Linked DNA regions of Homo sapiens: region 1 is linked to region 2. The links are contacts of gene promoters, found by promoter capture Hi-C in blood cells and fetal thymus (Javierre and others, 2016). All regions are on one chromosome and are shown on one strand. The core of a region is centred on a gene start or on the middle of the fragment in contact, and the rest is flanking DNA. Distances in the headings are between cores, read along the strand shown. Region 1 holds the start of HEPACAM2 (HEPACAM family member 2). Region 2 holds the start of MTERF1 (mitochondrial transcription termination factor 1).

What was found. The method cuts DNA at HindIII sites, captures the fragments that hold promoters and counts their contacts. A CHiCAGO score of 5 or more calls a contact.
Region 1: the fragment with the promoter of HEPACAM2 here is called in contact with the fragment with the promoter of MTERF1 in region 2 in 4 of 17 cell types (total CD4 T cells, naive CD8 T cells, fetal thymus and 1 more); the score reaches 7.5 in total CD4 T cells.

The regions. Positions count from the first base shown.
Region 1 is chr7:93,225,194-93,227,897 of GRCh38, forward strand. HEPACAM2 (HEPACAM family member 2) reads right to left here and starts at 1,276. Exons shown (of 10, transcript NM_001039372.4): 1 at 1,175-1,276. The coding sequence starts at 1,253. The HindIII fragment of the contact is 7,149 bases long and covers 1-2,704 here.
Region 2 is chr7:91,879,283-91,882,015 of GRCh38, forward strand. MTERF1 (mitochondrial transcription termination factor 1) reads right to left here and starts at 1,420. Exons shown (of 3, transcript NM_006980.5): 1 at 1,375-1,420; 2 at 773-831. The coding sequence starts at 801. It overlaps LOC112267986 (a long non-coding RNA gene), which reads left to right and starts at 1,520. Exons shown (of 2, transcript XR_002956514.2): 1 at 1,520-1,582. The HindIII fragment of the contact is 3,297 bases long and covers 1-2,176 here.

The sequences.
Region 1 (2,704 bases), core at 26-2,525, 1.3 Mb after region 2:
ATGATGACCCAGGATACTTTCAAAAGGAAGACAAATGCACAAAGGTAGTGACAGTTATAATAATTATTTACTTTTTCAAAAAATTTTAGAAAACAAAAATCTATTATAGGCTTAAATTTGATAACATAAATACTGTGATAACTGGAACAATCACAACTCTGGGAAACTCAAAGACTTAAAAAAATTTACAAACTGTACATTTCAAATGTGTGAGATAGGTACAACAGTAGGTATGAATTTGAATAATAACATTTACAATGCAAACTTTAACAAAATATAGGAGTGAAAGTAAAGCTCTAAATAGCTGAAGAAGCCTAAAAGTTAAATTGCTTATTTTGCTAAGCTGTTCTTAATTTTTAAAAAATGTAGCCTTAATTGAACTCCTATCTGTTGAATATAAACAAAACAAGAAATTGATTTGACTTTTAAAACTGATAAATAGGAAGAATGGAAATGAGAACATCTGGTGAAAATAATGTTGACAGACAGCAGTTGGAATGCTGGAAAGAGACTCCTTTAAACTCAAAAGATAAAGAGGAGAATGAGGGAAAATATTAAGGTAGAAAAAAATTCTTAATAGGACTAGCCATTGGGCAAAGAGAAAAGCTAAAGGCATTTTGGAGTAACAATCTTTTCAAATACGTTCTCCCTTTTGTGTAGGAAATTTTTTTGTTAGTTTGGAATCTTACCTTTCTTCCATATTTCATAAGATGAGACAGATAACTTAAAACGAAGCAGTAAACAGTTTGCAACAATATCTTTAATTAAAAAGAAAACAATTTTCGTAAATTATTTGTAGTTTCACTCTAAGTGGTCACAATTTCATGGCCTATTAGAATATTTGCTGAAATAAATGCATTAAAGACTATTGAACCTATATGTAAACTCTAAAAGAAGAAATTCATTATCTTTTAAAAATATCTGAATTATCTTAATGAGTGCTATGACAATAATTGTTGTTCCAAGAAAACAATAACAATCTATTTATTGAAACTCATTTCTCTTAAATGTTCCTGCTTCTTTGCTGTAACAGTGTGTTATTGTTAAAAGGTTCTGACCTGCTCTTCAATTATCTGAATGCATCTACAGCCTAAAGCAAATATTTACCTTATGTCCACAATTAAAAAAAAAAAACCTAACAAACAGCTAAAACACAATTCACACAGGGCCTTACCGAAGAGAAGGAGGTATATTTTGCACTGAAAGACCCCAAGTGTGTCACCGAAGGGCTCCATGAAAGCATCCTGTCCCATGCATGCAGTGCCCTGTTCTCAGTGGTAACTTGGACCAGCAGCTGCTGGTTTATTTGCTAGGGAAATTAGCAGTGAGGTAACAGACCCTATCTTGCCTCTTGCTTCTGTGATTTGAATACAGAATGAATGTGTATACAAAGGACACAGGGAGTGGGAACACCTGTTATGTGCTTAGCAAGAATACAGGCTTATGGCTTTCAGAAGAGTTTCTTAGCAACTACCAGTAATTGTCTATATATTTCATAAATTATACTTAGTTATTAAAAAATCACATGAAGGAAAACATCCTTTTGCGTGACTTTACTGAAAAATGGCATGTTTTCATAATGAAAGAATATTGTGAGATTTCCTTAAAAACAAAAGCTGGTTTTCTATCATGCAGAACTATGCCATTATTATTTTAAAATTAAAAAAAATTATATGAAAATTGAAGTAGCTCATGTATCTGCTAAACAGTTATAAATCTTCATGAAGTCACTAACATGTAAAAATTCTACCAATGAATCAAAAGAGAGATCCAGAATATATTTAAAACGTATTTTTTCTATGCAGTGTTTCCTATTACAATGACTGATTTCATTTAATCTTTGAATTCATCTTATTTTTAAAAGCAAATCACAGGTGTGTTTCCAACTGGGACTGAGGCATGGACCATGCATAATTATAATGAAAAGTGCATGCCAGGAGATAGTATCTGAGGCCACATTTTCACAGCTGATGCATAGAGGAAGTGAACCAATGATCTAGAAAAGATCTTACCTCTACTGCAGTGTCCAGGTTACAGGTTTTCAACCTGGTCTCTCCATTGTCATGGCAGCAGATAGTCTAAGCATGTCCGCTTAATTTACTAAGTTATTAGTTAACCCCTATTTGCAAGAAGGCTCTGGTTCTAGCCTTGTTATATAAAATGTTAAGGATATATCCAAATCTGCATCAAATCATCAAATCAAGGAAAATTCCTTGCATGCATCAGTTTTAACAGTAAAGGCCCACTGAAGAAGTTCAATGATAAGAGGGGAAGGAAGACTATACCTCAAGCATAATTAAAGTAAAAAAGGAATGATAGTAACTTTGGAATCCAAGTTTGGAAACACTCTTTGCATTAGGGCTCTGAACTCTTCTAGAAGGACTTCTATAAGCAAAGAAAGTAAGTGACTATTGGGAAAACGAAGTCCTCTTCAGAGATCAGTCACTTTCAGATCCCTCCATGCTTCAGAAAAATGGCAAGAGCTCCTCATGCTTCCCCCACCTCCCTGCAAAATAATAACAATGCCACAACTTTCTCTGCACTGTCTCTAAATCTGGTACACACATCTATTGCAGCACTTATCTCCTTAATCTTTATTTTATTGGATGTTTATTTTCCCTCTGAGCTCTCGAATACAGAGAATAATCTTATTCATTCATGGATGTTGGGCACGTAGCATAATGCTTAACTGGTATTTTTGTTA
Region 2 (2,733 bases), core at 170-2,669:
ATAAAGGTGCCAAAAATAAAGGCCGATCTACTGCAATCAAAAGATGTCAGATATTCTACATGACAAACTGCTTAACAGTATGGATAATGCCATGTATATTAAAGGCGGGGAGGGGGACGTTAATATATACAGAGGGGGAAAGTGGAATGACACTTATTTCTGAAAGATTATTAGAGGCTATGTACTACTTCTGAAATACTGGGACTTTATTTAATGAATATGTGTTACTTTGCAGTCAGATGAAAAAATTTAAACAAGTAAAACTGGCCTTTGGTGTGAAAAACAATGGAAAATACAAATTATCTTTATCTATTTTTCGGTTTCTAGTACCAAAAAAGTCACACTTCAAAATTCTCCATGATGCTTTACTCTTAGCAACGGATCTCCATTCAAAATACTCATAATATCTAGTAGGGTAAATGAACATCTAAATAGCCTAATACAAGAAAGTTAGCAACTTTCCTCACGTACAAATTTCAAAAATGGTACCTATTCAAAAATTGACTTCGATCTATTTCTCAAATTGACTTTTTAATTAACCAAAACCATTATCCAAAGGGCTAATGTTCAAACTTAACAAACACTGAAAATTTCTATGCTTGTAGTATGAGGGGTCTAAAAAAAGATTTACGTTCGCCTCTGCCCCACAACTGGCCTGTTAAAAAGGCTGTTAATGGAAATAACTAATCACTGGCCCTAAAATACCACATTCCAGCTGGTCTTCTTTTGATACAGCAAGCTAAGTTTGGAGATCTTTACATGCATTTCTCACCTTGTTTGTCCTAAGGAAAGGCTCTGCATCCCTCCAGAAAGGCTGGAGAACAGCTATCTCTGGAAATGACACACACACACAAAAAAAAGGCAAAATATTTCAGGCCTTCCTAATACAAAATAAGAGATCGATCCCAGCTAACGTTCTCGTTGCATTATGTTCTCGTGAGATGCATTACCTCTTGCAAACAACATTTCTCAGACATACAGAAAAGAAAACGGCAAGTACATGCCTACATATGATGGGAAAAGGTAGCGGAATCACGAATACGTTTTGTACCAAAGCTAAGTGCTTCATATATATTGTCTCGCTTTACTCCCCACAACAATTTAAAAGGTAGGCATAAGCCTTAAAATTACAAAATCTGAAACAGCGCCGAGCTCCCATACTAGCCTGCCTTCGCTAGCTGAAGCATTAGGGTTCGAACCCAGGTGGGTCTTTCTTAACTCAAAACCAAGGTAATTCCACACCGAAGGCTCTTTCCATCCCTCTTCCTCCTCCAAAGACAAATCTGCAAAGGGCTGCACTGTACAGCAGTCACCCACACCCACTTCTTAACAAAAAGAAAGGAAAGCACAGCCTCACCACCTTCCCAATCTCACCCTGAACTGCACCCATCCACTGTAGTTCGCTTTTACTTCCGCCTCTGGGGTCCGGAGCGGCTAGGAGGAGCGGAAGTGGAAAAGACTAACTTCCGGCCTCGGGTCGCGCGCAGAGGTGATGTCGTTGGTCCTGCGCCCCCTCGTGGCGGTACTTCAGCCCTTCGCAGCCCGACGCTAGGGGCCTGGCAGGGGGCAGCAAGAGACCGCGGTGAGCGCGGGGTATTGAACGCCAAAGAAGGGGTTTGGAGGGTGGGGTGGGGCCTGGGACTCCCAGTCGCCTGGGCAGATGTCCGTGGGGAACTGTAAGGCATCTTATAGGGATCCTACAGGGGGCATCCACTGCCGGCCGACGACACGTGGTGGAAAAGTAGCTATTATTTACATGCGTGTTGCAGTTTTTGATAATGCGATTGCTGCTGCTAATGTGACTAACGCGATGCCGATGAACATCTCGGCGTTTTTTGGTGCAGGATAAGCGGGTGTAGACTCTGTCTGTTTAGTCCCAGATTCTCCTCCTTTAATGAACTACCGTGGAAATCCTGGAGTGTCACTGCTGGTCTGAATTCAGCATCCGCCTTCAGGCTGGAAATCAATTCTAGTATACTTCGATTTCCTTACTTGCAGTTCGAATTCAAATATGATTCTTTTGACATTGTGAGGGTTTGCGCTATTTAAAGAATGGAGGCAACCGAAACCTCATCTCCACAGTGGATGCATTTTTGCTCCCTCCCGAGGCGTTGCCTTAAGCCACGCGGTCCTGTCAGCCTCACCTGCCTAGTGATGGTGACAATGGAAGAGATAAAGCTTCAATTCAAGGCACTTCTCCTGTGACCATCAAAAGAAAGATAATATCTACATTAATGAATTAATTGTGTCTGTCGAGTTATCCTCAGGAGACGATGGTGATTTGGTCCTTAAAAAAACACAGGATCAACAGGATTGACCCTGAATTCTACAAAGAGGAAAAATTTCAGGCATTACTAACTCCTCCATGTACAAGCCTAATGATGTAATTTTCTGGCCGGGCGCGATGGCTCATGCCTGTAATCCCAGCACTTTGGGAGGCCAAGGCGGGAGGATGGCTTGAGGCCAGGAGTTCGAGACCAGCCTGGCCAACATGGTGAAACCCCATCTCTACAAAAAGTACAAACATTAGCCAGGCGTGGTCACAGGTGCCTGTAGTCCCAGCTACTTGGGAGGCTAAGGTGGGAGAATCACCTGAGCCTGGGAGGTTGAGGCTGCAGTGAGCCGTGATTGTGCCACTACACTCTAGCCTGGGTGACACAGTGAACCTTGTCTCAAGAAAGAAAAAGAATTTTCTTTATCCCATTTCTTTCTCCTTTTTCTTTTTTTTTTTTT